Regions from separate parts of the Homo sapiens genome. Here regions 1, 2, 3 and 4 are each linked to region 5. Evidence: promoter capture Hi-C in 16 types of primary human blood cells and fetal thymus (Javierre and others, 2016). All regions are on one chromosome and are shown on one strand. Each heading gives the region's core, a stretch centred on a gene start or on the middle of the fragment in contact. The rest is flanking DNA. Distances are from core to core; before and after follow the strand shown.

Region 1 (2,700 bases), core at 140-2,639, 300 kb before region 5:
CTGCCCCCTCCTCTGGGATGGGGCTTTTCTTCCATAGTCCCTTCTCTCTGCTGCAGTGACTTTTCACCAGTGTCCAGACGGCAACAGTATTTGTGCTCCTTTTCCCTCATAGGGTGCTTTTGTTCTGTGAGATGAGAGAAAGGGTATGGTAAGTTCCTTTACCCATGCCCAAGGCCGCTGTATACTCCCCTGGGTGTGTGTCACAGCCGACACTTCTTAGGGCTCTTTACAGTATTTTCTGAGCCCCTGGTAGAGATTGTAAAGAAAAAGCCTGCAAGATAGGGCGACTCCCCTAGTTTCTGCAGGCCCCCGGGTCTTAACACTCCTGCAGCCCATATTCTGCCTTCACCAATCATCACTTTTAGCTAGCCTATTCTTTCCAGTGTCTGTTTACAACGACCCTACGAAACTAGTGCTAATGTCTTCTCTCCCCTTGCAGGCAACTGCCCCTCTCCATTTGGTGCCACTTGGTTACTCTGCAACCTCAGCTTTCCAATGGATTCGAAAAAATGTCCTAATTTATAGTTCATCTGGCTCGTTTGCATTGTAAGAGTAGAAGAAATGCTCCTTCTACCCCTACATCCCGGAGTGGAAGCTGGAAGTGCTGTGATTTAAAAATGTATATATGTAAAACACACATTTTATTGAATGTAAAACATGAGTGTAATTAATCCTAAAACCAGAATTCAGAAAATGAGCCATTTTTAATTTTTTTATCTAGTTTTTTAAATGTTTGAATTATAAAGGTGATAAGATTAGAAAAATTTGGGAAATAGAAAACCCCAAGAGCTATTTTCTTTTTTGCATATTCATTTGAATTTTTATGTGGTAATATTTTTAGATTTCTCCTCATTCTACCTCTCATTCTCACATCTACCAATACATGCCTTCATAGTCTAGATTTATAGAAGTTTTAGAACTCTGCTTAGGGATGCTTAAGAGCAAATGGTAAGATTAGCCACAGTGTAGTTTGGGACATCAGTAGTACGGGCTGCTCTCTTTCTAAAATCCTTTTCTCTGGCTGGCATGTTGACCGGGAGTCTCCCTTCCATTCCTGCTCTGCAGACCCTGCGGGCCAGAGTCCTTGCCCGAGACCTTCAGGTCAGTCAGTGTCTCCTGGTGTGCATTTGGGAAAGGCTGCTGCATAGGCTCACCTCCCACTGGGTTTCATTTGACCTAGTGAACCCGTAGCAACTCGATTTGGCTTAATTGGCCACCCCTAATCCTGTAGCTGTCATACTACTCAATGTAATGACTAGCAGGGACAACTTTTTCATCATCTTTAGTTAAACTCCAGTTACTCATTTGGAAAATGGTTTCCCCAAATGTGTATCATTCTTGACAGTTTTTCACATTTGTTTCCCTGGTCCTAAAGCAAGATTATAAAAATCAAATAGAACCTGTGTGTGAGGGCCCTTGTTTGCACAATGAGGAGAGGACACACTTCATCTGGAGGTTGCGTGACTGGGGCAGCATCCTACAGCTCAGCATAAGAGGCAGGCTCAACCAACTGCCCAGGGAAGAGCGCTTCTTACTAAACATATTCAACAGTTGGGGCTCTCAGAAAAGAATGTGACTTGTTTTAAATGTAAGTAAGGGATCTTCCATAAGGTTATTCCTAGGCCAAGCAAAAGGAGGTTCCCTAAAGCACAATAGAAAAAGTGTTCTTTACTAATTGCTGTTAAGATGACAGATGGGGCTGGGCGTGGTGTCTCACACCTGTAAATCCCAGCACTTGGGGAGGCCAAGGCAGGCAGATCACTTGAGGTCAGGTGTTCAAGACCAGTCTGGCCAACATGGCAAAACCCCGTCTCTACTAAAAACACAAAAGCCAGGCGTGGTGGCCGACGCCTGTAATCCCAGCATCCTGGGAGGCTGAGGCACAAGAATTGCTTGAACCTGGGAGGCAGAGGTTGCAGTGAGCCGAGATTGCACCACTGCACTCCAGCCAGGGTGACACAGCAGGACTCTTGTCTCAAAAAAGAAAAAAAAAAAAAAAAAAGACAGATGGAAACTTGCAATCAAAAAGAAAATGATGCACTTAGGGAGGCCGAGGTGGGAGGGTGGATCATCTGAGGTCAGGAGTTCGAGACCAGCCTGGCCAACATGGTGAAACCCCACCTCCACTAATAATAATAAAATGAGCTGGGTGTGGTGGCGGGCGCCTGTAATCCCAGCTACTTGGGAGATTGAGGCAGGAAAATCGCTTGAACCTGGGAGGCAGAGGTTGTGGTGAGCCAAGATCACGTCACTGCACTCCGGCCTGGGTGACAGAATGAAACTCCATCTCAAAAGAAGGAAAGGAAATGATGCACACTGACAGCAACAGGGGGCGGGTGTGGGGGGGAATGCTCAGTTATGCAGCTTGTCAGTACAGACAGTTGTTTCTGATAATTTGGTAACTTGGGTAAATTTCTATGATGTTCAAATGATTTTACTGTACCTAGTGGTTCCCTTCTGTCTTGCTGTGTGCTGCTCCTTCAGAAAGAGGTGTTCCTTTTGATCTAAGTAATACTATATTTTAGGGAATTTTTTCAAGTGTAACACTTACTAATCAAAATGTTCCTTTTCTGTCATTCCCTGCTTCAGTAAACCCCTTCAAATATGTCCTTCTTTCAAAACTTCACCTTTTTTTTCTCAATTGTTCATTTGGTTCTATATAAAGTCATGCCAAGGACTGAATGAATTTAGGGAATTAGG
Region 2 (2,700 bases), core at 50-2,549, 340 kb before region 5:
ACAGTGAGCCATGATTCTGCCACCGTACTCCAGCCTGGGTGACAGAGCAAGACCCTGTCTCTTAAAACACACGCGTGCACACACACACACACACACACACACACACACACACACCCCCAGCAAATACAAACTAGATTTTTCCTACTCACTGGATTCAATGAGCCAATAATCTGGATTAGAATGATACTTAAAACCTTTTTAGCACAAATTTTTTTTAACATAAATTGTCTTTCATTTAACTTCAAATAACTGAATAAACTAAAAGCAGTTCTCATAAGAAGACGTCTGCAGATGCTACCACGCCCAACTAATTTTTTATAGAGACGGAGTCTTGCTCTCTTGCCCTGGCTGGTCTCCAACTCCTGGCCTCAATTAGTCCTCCTGCCTCAGCCTCCCAAAGTGTTGGGATTATAGGCGTGAGCTATTGCACCTGGACCACAGATGTTAGAAGAATGAATGAGCATAATTTTTAAATGAAAATCCAGCACTGATCATTACAAGATTTTGTGATGGTAAATATCGGTATGTAATTTGTAACAAAGTGAAGGATGTGAAAATGTAGAATATTCTGGAAAGGTAGTTTGAGACTAGACTATAATAGGGCCTTGAGTGTCATGATAATGCATACAGGCAGTATGCTGTAATGAACTCAAGTATATAAGTGTGACATTTTAGCAAGATCCATATGGCTTGGCACAAATGGAGAAGAACCTGTCACCGATCCGTCTGTCTTTTTATGAGGTTTTTTTTCTATGTGAACTTCAGAAGCATGGTTTTTGTTGTTTTTTTGTTTTTTTGGTTTTTTGTTTTTTTGTTTTTTTGAATCTCGCTCTGTTGCCCAAGCTGGAATGCAGTGGCACGATCTCAGCTCACTGCAACCTCTGCCTCCTGGGTTCAAGCAATTCTGCCTCAGCCTCCCGAGTAGCTGGGATTACAGGTGCCCTCCACCACGGCCAGCTAATTTTTGTATTTTTAGTAGAGACGGTTTCACCATTGTGGCCAGGCTGGTCTTGAACTCCTGACCTCGTAATCCACCTGCCTCGGCCTCTGAAAGTGCTGGGATTACAGGCGTGAACCACCGCGCCTGGCTGTATAGCTTTATTCTTAATAGCCAAAAGCTAGAAGCAACCCAAATTGTTTTCCAATAGAATAAAGAAATAAATTGGATATATTCATAAATGGATGCTGCACAATAATAATGAAAATGAGGCAGTGGCTCATGTCTCTAATCCCAGCACTTTGGGAGGCTGAGGCATGTGGATCACTTGAGGCCAGGAGTTCAAGACCAGCCTGGCCAACATGGCGAAACCTCATTTCTACTGAAAGTAGAAAAAATTAGCTTGGTGCAATGGCGCACGCTTGTAACCCCAGCTACTCGGGAGGCTGAGGCACAAGAATCATTTGAAACTGGGAGGTGGAAGTTGCGGTGAGCCAAGATTGTGCCACTGTACTCCAGCCTGGGTGACAAAGCAAGACTTTGTCTCAAAGAAAAAAAGAAAAATATTTAAAAAGAAAATGAATAAGATACTTCTATATACAGCCATATAGATGAATCTCATGAATAATGTTGACCAAAGAAGAAGAGCATAAGAGCATACTCTGTTACTACTTTTATACAAATACAAAACAGGCAAAACCCATCTGTAATTTAAGTTAGGATGAAGGTTATTTTTGTAGAGTAGGAGTAGTGAGCAATTTTAGGAGGCATAGGAGGGGGTTCTGGGGTACTGATAATATATTTCTTCATCTGGGTGTGATCACTTTGTGAGCATTCATTGGGATGTACATTTATATATGAGACACACAGAATAGCTTGGAAAGAGAGAAACTGAAATCAGTGCCAACCCAAAGTCTTTGATGCCTGTGGGGAAATGTGATAGTGGGTAGAAAGGTGGGAACATAGGCCGGGCACCATGGCTCCTGCCTGTAATCCCAGCACTTTCGGAGGCTGAGGCGGGCCAATCACCTGAGGTCGGGAGTTCTAAGGCCAGCCTAACCAACATGGAGAAACCCCGTCTCTACTAAAAATACAAAATTAGCCAGGCATGGTGCTGCATGCCTGTAATCCCAGCTACTAGGGAGGCTGAGGCAGGAGAATTGCTTGAACCTGGGAGGCAAGACTCCGTCTCAAAAAAACAAAAAAGAAAAGAAAGCTGGGAACATTTGAAAGGGGAGTAGCCAAAGGTCATACCCACATTAAAAAAAAAAGCAGTTTTTGTTCAGTAGTGAGAATAATGGCCTGAAAAAGCAGTGAGAAACAGGAGACACCGCTTTCTCTACTGTAAGTGCCTTTAACATGGAAGAATGAGCAACTTACATTTTTAAAGGAGAATCAGATATTAGGGCAATAGATTCCATTCACTGGGCTACTGGACTTAACTATACATAAGAACGATCTGAGTAGCTTTTTGGGAAAAAGTCCTGGATCTCACCTCCGTATCCTTTTTTTTTTTTTGAGATGGAGTCTCACTCTGTCAACCAGACTAGAGTGCAGTGGTGTGATCTTGGCTCACTGTAACCTCTGCCTCCCAGGTTCAAGCAATTCTCCTGCCTCAGCCTCCCGAGTAGCTGGGATTACAGGTGCCTGCCACCACACCTGGCTATTCTTTTGTATTTTGGTTTCACCATGTTGGCAAGGCTGGTCTCTAACTCTTGACCTCAGGTGATCTGCACACCTTGGCCTCCCAAAGTGCTGGGATA
Region 3 (2,700 bases), core at 60-2,559, 420 kb before region 5:
GAAGATTATAATAGCGTATTTTTACTGTACTCTTATGTTCAGATGTTTAGATATAAAAATACCATGTGTTACCACTGCCTACGGTATTCAGTACAGTAACATGCTGTACAGATTTGTAGCCCAGGAGCAGTAGGCTATACCATATAGCCTGAGTGTATATATACAATCCCTGTTTGTGTAAGTACAGTCTGTGATGTTCACACGATGAAACTGCCTAACGATGCATTTCTCAGAACGTATTCCTGTCATTAAGTGACACATGACTATACTGACTTTCTTGAGATGTGTGTTGTCCCTCATAGCGATGTGCCTGAGATGAATCTGGCCCCATCCTCAGCTCCAGGGGTGCATCTGATTGGCATAGGGAATGGACTTTATTTTTTAACTAACAGTGGTTGAGGAATGGGTTTGTAACCCAAATGACATGTGAGTAAGGATAGTCTGGAAGTAGGTTACTAGGAAGACTTTACTCACTGCTGAGAGAACCCTGAGAAGAGAAAGCTTCTTTTCTTCTTCTGGACATTGTGTAGAGTTGTGATACCTAGCACCGTTAAAGCCATTTGCTGTCAGCTTGAGGGTAAAGGCACTATCCAGGATATTAGAGCTGTGAGATGGAAAAAATGGAGTCCTTACATTGTTCAGTTGCTAAATAAGTCAGCCCAGAAGTCTTTCCTTTTTCTGAAGTTATTGTGGAATGATAATACATTTTCCTTTATCTTTTTTTTTTTTTTGAGACAGAGTTTCACTCTTGTCGCCCAGGCTGGAGTGCAATGGCGTAATCTTGGCTCACTGTAACCTCCACCTCCCGGGTTCAAGCAATTCTCCTGCCTCAACCTCCCGAGTAGCTAGGATTACAGGTGCCTGCCACCATGCCCAGCTAATTTTTTTGTATTTTTAGTAGAGATGAGGTTCCACCATGTTGGTCAGGCTGGTCTCAAACTCCTGACCTCAGGTGATCCACCCACCTCAGCCTCCTAAAGTGCTGGGATTACAGGCATGAGCCACTGTGCCCGGCCTCTTTCTTTTTTTGTGTGATTTAGTCTTGCTCTGTCACCCAGGCTGGATGGAGTTCAGTGGTGCGATCTTGGGTCACTGCAGCCTCCGCCTCCCAGGTTCGAGGGATTCTCCCAACTCAGCCTCCTGAGTAGCTGGGATTACAGGTGCATACCACCATGCCTGGCTAATTTTTGTGTTTTTTAGTAGAGATGGGGTTTCACCATGTTGGTCAGGCTGGTCTCAAACTCCTGACCTCAAGTGATCCACCCGCCTCAGCCTCCCGAAGCGCTGGGATTAGAAGGCATGAGCCACCGCGTCCGGCCTCTTTTTTCTTTTCTTAAGATGAGGTCTTGCTCTGCTGCCCAGGCTAGAGTGCAGTAGCACCATCAGGGCTGACTGCAGTCTCGACCTCCCAGGCTCAAGTGATCCTCCCACCACAGCCTCCCGAGCAGCTGGGACCACAGGTGTGCGCCACCATGCCCAGCTAAAAATTAGTGTACTAATTAGTTAAAAATTAGCTACTCGGGAGGCTGAGGTGGGAGGATTGCTTGAGATGGGAGGTTGAGGCTGCAGGGAGCCATGATTGTGCCACTGCACTCCAGCCTGGGCGACAGAGTGACCCCGTTTCAAAAATAGAAAACAAAAATTTTGGAAAAAAATTAGATGGTTGTATCTGTACTGAACATCTGTAGACTTTTTTCCTTATCATTTATTCCTTCCACAATACAGTGTAACAATTATGTACATAGCATTTACATTGTATTAGGTATATAAGTAATCTAGAGATGATTTAAAGTATACAGGAGGATATGTATAGTTTCTATGCAAATACTACGCAGTTTTATATAAGGGACTTGAGCATCTGTGGATTTTGTTATCCTGGAATCAATCTCCCACAGATACTGAGGGTTGACTGTACTTTTAGAATATGGCATCCAAACATGACTTCTTTGGTTCTGCTATAATCCTTAAATTGTTTGATTTCTTGGTCTTGTTTCTTCAACTTAATTGCAAGTTCTTTAGAAGCTCAAACATCATAGGACCTTGTATATAAATAGCCAAGTATCTGTTTTTTCCCTTGCCTTTCTAAATCTGTGATTACATACATAGTATAAGCTTAGGGAAACATTTATTGGTGTGACAATGCAGAAGTTAACTAAACTGATTTAAGTCTTTGAAAGTTTTTGAAATAAAGATTTTATCATTTATTTTCTAGCTGTCACCACTGACTAAAGAAGAGAAAACTGCGGCAGAGCAATTCAAATTTCACATGCCAGATTTATGAAGAAATGGACTTGGAAAGGAAATTCTAACAGAGAAGAGCTTAATTCCGGAGAAATTTAGGAAGATGTCTTGTTAACCCTTGATGTCTAGAGATTGGGGGCTGGTGAAGGGGGTTTGGCTTCAATGACTGGATAATGATATCTTTCATGAGAGAGATTATAAGAAGAAGGGCAGATAATATATGAATAAAGTTCAGCCAAAAGGATCAAATGAGAATAAAACGATTTAAATATATGTACACACGCATGCACACACACACTTAGTCTTGTAATTTCAGGCCAGAAATTCTCAACACTATTTTGCATCTGTTTTCTTTTTCTAAGTCATGATAATATAGATGTTCTGGTCTATCATAAAAGAATGTTTATGTACATTTCAGTCATTCGGTATGTGGCTTTGTAAATTAAAGTATAGGCAAAA
Region 4 (2,700 bases), core at 150-2,649, 280 kb before region 5:
ACCCAGGCCACATGTAGCATGTTGCCTCTGATGAAAGTCACCACTCCTGTGGTCCCACATCTTAAGCTCTGAAAACAGTTTAAATAAAACTAGACTCAGTGAAAAGAAATAGATACTACATTCTTATTGAGAAGCAATTTATAATTAAGCTTTTCAGCTGGGAGCTATACTATTAATAATGGAATTTCACACATATATAATAATTCATTGTCTCAATGCATTTGTATATGCATGTATGTATTTATGTGTATATACACACATAAGTCCACCTGATCTGTGATATGCAGGGCGAGGATGATTATTAATTCCACTTTAAATATAGATAAGAAAACTATGGCAGGTTATGTGACTTGCCCAAGGGCAGGTAACTATTAGTATATAAGACAGAATTGAAATTCTTTTTCCTCCCAGTCAAGCACTAAATCCTCTATACCAATCCTCAGAGTAAAAATTTCTATATTCTGCTCTCCATTTCATTACTGACATCGTATTTGTTCAGTGGGAGAGTCCTAGCTGTATAAAATGATATATAAAACATCTGATTGGTACACAACAGATGCTCTAATCTCTGGAAATTAAGCTAAGGGGCCAAGAGACAGCTTACGTTCCCTGGAGTACTAAGATGCTTATACCTTTAAAAAAATATCCTTCCTACAGTATTTTTAGGGGTCTTTGCTTTTGGAACATTGCATAAAGAACTAACAGCCTGGAATTTCACTGCAGTAGCTACGACTGTACTTAAAGCTCTTGGTCCTACTATACGAAAATGACATCCCCATTTGACATGAGTCACCACCAAATGAGCATGACTTTCTGTTACTAAGGACCTGGCCTAAATTAGAACCAATGCGTCAGGGGTGGTAAAAGGTCTCTTGTATCCAATGAGAAAAACAACTTCTCGTTTTCCCTATATAGGGAAAGTTTGTTATAAATCCTCACCCACCAATAAAATGTCTTCCCACACAGAATGTTCAAAAACTCAGCCCCCTAGAACACATGATAAACACACTTCAGTGCATATGCCCTGGAGAGAACAGGAGGCAGGGCTGCTTCATAACAGGAATAGCTGTTTTCTTCCCAGCAGTTAGCAGCACATGGAAGCATAAGAAGGAGAAAAGGGGCGCTGAGACAAACCTAAATTATTCAGAACTATTGGCAGAACTGAGAGACACCAGGGTCACTGACAAAACAAATGAGGTAAACATGGTCAGAAAACAACAACAACAACAACAACACATAATTTTGAGAAGACAGAGGAAAAAAAGAATAGAATAGAGGATGAAGAAGACAGAGTGAATCTCTTTGTTTCACATTGATGATTACGGGTCACCTCTCAGGGGCCGGCCCTTGTCCTCGACTCAGATGATAAAAGCCCACAGCTTCAAGAGAGGCAGAGCCAAGCAGAATGCAGGTCCTCAAGAGACTGGAGCTCTGAGGTCAAGAGTGGCTTTATTCTCCAGACCCACCTCTTTGTGTGGACTCTACTGGTTACTGTTGGATTTGCATATTAATCCAAACTTAGGGGAGGGGAGAGATGAAGAATAATTCTCTTTCTTAATACCAAATAGGTCTGAGTTATTGTTTCATTAATTCTAAGCCCCATTATTGCTTGTAGCATAACTATGCTATCAAAAAATGGATTAAATGATTACCCTGATCTCTCCAAGCCCATTTTAAAAAGAGTTAATGTTTAAGTCACAGGGCAGGAGTCTTATTTTTTGTCTGTATCTACTTCTGTAATTATTTTTAAAAATTAAAAATTCTTTTATTCGTCCCCAGTTAAAAATCCAATATAGAACACTGTAGTTAATTATGTACCAATACCCAGAACGATAATTAGATTAATTTTTTTACTTTTAGACCTTAATATAGAGCCCTTGCCATTTATTCAAAGTAAAAAAAACTTAGGTCTGATTAACCTTCGCAATGTAGGACATGAGCTCTTCTTTTCTCCCTATTAAGAGAAAAATCAGCTCAAGGATCATTTAAGGATTCACCCTCTCCAAGCGAATTTTCCCTCAAGAGATACACAGCAAAACACTGCCTACCCATTTAGAACCAAATGTATGGAAGTAATCCCAGTTTCTGTTTCTTTTTTAGACCATTGTTTTATTCACCATATCCAGATCTTGTCAGCAAGAGTCTGCTTAGAGAGATGGTCCTGGTGTGAACCTGACAGGCAATGGTGAATAAAAGAAAGATGAAACTCACCTGCCAAATCCAGCAGTTATTACAGAAATGAATCCAGAAAATTACAGCTTGAGATTTTCTATACAGTACCTCATTGTACCCCCTGAAACTCTTCCTGAGGAGGGAATTGGAACTACAACAGAATCCAATACTGTGAGTCAAGAATACAGTTTGGATAATGTCTGCCCAGAAAGAGAAAATCTAAATAGCCCTTTAACCACACAGACCAAATTGAGCTCAGCTAGTACATTTCTAGCTGGAACTTATGAGAAAGGGGCATACCTCCCTGGCTGCTTTCTGCACAAACCGCTCATCAGTGACCCGGAAGGCCCTGCACAGGGCCTCAGCAGGATCATGGGGGAACATCTCCTGGCGGACTAAGTTAACGTGGAGGTGAATGGAGGCATAAATAGCAGCATCTACTCCCCCATGGCCATCAAACACTGCAAAGTAAGCTTGTTCTTCCTGGTCCTGTCAACAGAAACACAGAACAGTTATGGGAGTTGGGTA
Region 5 (2,700 bases), core at 34-2,533:
TTCAGTTAATTACGTAAGAGAATATTCTTTCTATGCTTCCTCAAGATTCCGGGGATTCTACTCTCTTTCTCATTCTTAGTGTCTCTAGTCCTACACAAAATCCTGCATTTCTGAAATTTAACCCTTACCCCTTGGATCTTGGAACAGCAAAAATTAGACAACCAATTCTGACTCCAGTATTTCCTAACCCAGTTAGCATGAAAAGTTACCTAAGCTCCCCAAGATATCAGTTCTCTCATCCATATACTGAATATAATAATCTACGTAAGCGGGTTGAGGGTTAAATGAGACAATCCTCAAAGCATTCAGCAGGCATTGCCAGAGGAAAAGCAATTAGTAAATGTTTTCACGACCACAGTTCTCCTAACCATTCAGACAACTTGTAAGTGGAGTCGAGGAGCTCTTTCACGCTGTAAACATGGACGTGGGAGGAAGCAGAATCTAACGGAGACTGGGCTGAAGGCCGAGGCGAGAGAACGAAGACTGAGGCGGCGCTGACGGCGGCCGGTGTGCCTCAGCTTGCCATCAGGAGTCGTTACCTTTGCTAAGCTCGGAGGGTTTCACCTCTAGGAGTTCCTCAGCAGTCTGGAACCCCGCAGACACCAGCTTCACCCGCACCGCTGGAGACAGCGGGAAACTCACCAAATCCCGCTGCATTTCAAAGCGGAACGTCTTCCCGCGCATCGCAGGCTCACCTGCTAACCCCGGAGCAGCCAAACTCCGCACGCCCTCGCTGGGGCGTGCGGCGTGACGTCAGACGTAAAGCGGAAGGGGCCGGCTCTGCGGCCTGGCCGCACGGGGCTCCGGGCCTTGCAGCTTTGCGCAGTCTTGTAAATTTTCACACTTATGCACCATTCCGTTTTGATTCCCCAAAATCCCATTTAGAGATTCCTCATCAAATGTACACCCTGACTGTAAAACGATGGACGGAGACCATAGGACGGAGAGCCAGGCCCAGTGGGTTCTCCACGCCACATTTCCTTGCCTCCACCGTGGCCTGTTAGGTGAAGCCTCAGAGTCATTAATAGGAATGATCTCGAGTGGGAGTAGTGAGCGTAACGGGCACACACTAGCCAGTTACCATTATTTTGGTGTGAAAAGCTCAGGGAACAATCATTAGAATTAATCTGCGTGCTCTTTGTAGAGTTGCAGTCTCTTGGCTCTTCCCGCTGACCGTCCCCCTTTTCTGACCCCCCCCCCCCGCAACGACCACATTGCTTTTCCCGCCCTCGCGAGGGATTGTGGGCCAGCCCCCAACGGCCGCTGGGAGGGATCAGTCCGCATTCCCCGCACCCACCCACGTCTTCCCGGGAGTCGTATCCCGAGCATGGAGGTTACTGAGACCGTTATTTCTTCATGGCCTGCCTAGCTTAAGCAGTAGCTGGAAAAGTAAGCAACTAATGTCCCCATTAGTGTGTCTGGGCTCCTGGGGTCCTGAGAAGGAGGGGCTGGGCTACACAAGAGCTCCTTTTGTGGTACAGACTTGGGAAGGGGTGTTCAAGCAGTGGTAGTGACCGCCTCTAAATTACAGAACTTCGGGGAGGAAGGCAAGCAGTTTAGAAGGTGGTTTATGAGTTCCTTCCTTGCCTAGGTGAGTGTAACTTATTTAGCAGGGGGTAACTTATTCCCTACCTATTGGCGATTTTTTTTTTTTTTTTTTTGAGACAGAGTCTCACTGTGTTGCCCATGATGGAGTGCAGTGGCACGATGTCGGCTCACTGCAACCTTCGCCTCCCGGGTTCAAGTGAGTCTCCTGCCTCAGCCTCTTGAGTACCTGGGATTACAGGCGCACGCCACCATGCCCGGCTAATTTTTGTATTATTATTAGAGAAGGGGTTTCACCATATTGGCCAGGCTGGTCTCGAACTCCTGACCTCGTGATCCGCCTGCCTCGGCCTCCCAAAATGCTGGGAGTACAGGCGTGAGCCACCGCGCCCGGCCCTGTTGGCAATGATTCTTAGTCTTGACTTTTCTTCCCAGCTTAGAAGAACTTTCTAAATATTGCAAATCAGAGCCCTCTACATACTTAGATCTAAAAAAGGAAACAACGTATGTTGAGCACTTTAGCAAATCCCACACATTTCAAATGGCCATAGCCATGCCAAAAGGAAGATAAGGACATGGAAGCTCAGCATATAGTTTAATATCAATTCTGATAAAAGAAAAAAAGCTGGCCGGGCGCAGTGGCTCGTGCCTGTAATCCCAGCACTTTGGGAGGTCGAGGCAGGTGGATCTCTTTGAGCTCATGAGTTTGAGACCAGCCTCGACAACATGGCGAAACACTGTCTGTACCAAAAGTACAAAAAATTAGCCGGGCATGGTGGCATGCACCGGTCGTCCCAGCTACTCAGAAGTCTGTGGTGGGAGGATCCCTTCAGCCTGGGAGTGAGCTATGATCACGCCACTGCACTCCAGCTTGGGTGATAGAGTGAAACCCTGTCTCAAACAAACAAAACACCTCAGCACAGTTTTCTTAAAGCCAAGATTCAAACCTAGCATCCTTTTTACTACCCCGAGCTATTAAGATTTTGAGTCCCTACTGGCGGGGAGAATACGAGAAGCATTTATACCCCATTTGGTAGGTCAAAGAAAGTCTTGTAGGACTGGCCAAAATGTGGTTGGCCACTCAACCCATTGCTTAACTTCTAATATGGTCTATATTTGAGCGCTCAGTGGATGCATAAATACTATCTTCAGGGA

The links. Contacts are between HindIII fragments. The CHiCAGO score rates a contact against its expected background, and 5 or more counts as called.
Region 1: a contact is called between a fragment that was not itself captured here and the fragment with the promoter of TEX14 in region 5, in 8 of 17 cell types (endothelial precursors, megakaryocytes, monocytes and 5 more). The highest score is 7.1, in endothelial precursors.
Region 2: a contact is called between a fragment that was not itself captured here and the fragment with the promoter of TEX14 in region 5, in 3 of 17 cell types (M1 macrophages, M0 macrophages and activated CD4 T cells). The highest score is 7.7, in M1 macrophages.
Region 3: a fragment that was not itself captured here is called in contact with the fragment with the promoter of TEX14 in region 5 in 1 of 17 cell types (M1 macrophages); the score reaches 5.1 in M1 macrophages.
Region 4: a contact is called between a fragment that was not itself captured here and the fragment with the promoter of TEX14 in region 5, in 1 of 17 cell types (endothelial precursors). The highest score is 5.0, in endothelial precursors.

What each region holds. Positions count from the first base shown.
Region 1 is chr17:58,985,807-58,988,506 of GRCh38, reverse strand. It overlaps a transcript of TRIM37 not described here. Among named protein-coding and RNA genes, the nearest start is that of TRIM37, 120 kb to the left of the region's middle. The HindIII fragment of the contact is 3,205 bases long and covers 1-2,700 here.
Region 2 is chr17:59,033,862-59,036,561 of GRCh38, reverse strand. All of the region lies in intron 17 of TRIM37 (tripartite motif containing 37), which reads left to right. Among named protein-coding and RNA genes, the nearest start is that of TRIM37, 72 kb to the left of the region's middle. The HindIII fragment of the contact is 4,005 bases long and covers 1-2,700 here.
Region 3 is chr17:59,111,858-59,114,557 of GRCh38, reverse strand. It overlaps SKA2 (spindle and kinetochore associated complex subunit 2), which reads left to right. Exons shown (of 4, transcript NM_182620.4): 4 at 2,213-2,700. The coding sequence ends at 2,281. It overlaps LOC124904039 (a long non-coding RNA gene), which reads right to left. Exons shown (of 2, transcript XR_007065864.1): 2 at 1-604. Among named protein-coding and RNA genes, the nearest start is that of TRIM37, 6.3 kb to the right of the region's middle. The HindIII fragment of the contact is 1,611 bases long and covers 504-2,114 here.
Region 4 is chr17:58,969,500-58,972,199 of GRCh38, reverse strand. It overlaps PPM1E (protein phosphatase, Mg2+/Mn2+ dependent 1E), which reads right to left. Exons shown (of 7, transcript NM_014906.5): 4 at 2,473-2,661; 5 at 1-68. It also overlaps a transcript of TRIM37 not described here. Among named protein-coding and RNA genes, the nearest start is that of TRIM37, 140 kb to the left of the region's middle. The HindIII fragment of the contact is 2,496 bases long and covers 152-2,647 here.
Region 5 is chr17:58,690,628-58,693,327 of GRCh38, reverse strand. It overlaps TEX14 (testis expressed 14, intercellular bridge forming factor), which reads left to right and starts at 1,283. Exons shown (of 32, transcript NM_031272.5): 1 at 1,283-1,389. It overlaps IGBP1C (IGBP1 family member C), which reads left to right and starts at 1,283. Exons shown (of 2, transcript NM_001395966.1): 1 at 1,283-1,389. RAD51C (RAD51 paralog C) reads right to left here and starts at 726. Exons shown (of 9, transcript NM_058216.3): 1 at 540-726. The coding sequence starts at 684. RefSeq lists enhancers at 369-538, 869-968. The HindIII fragment of the contact is 6,974 bases long and covers 1-2,700 here.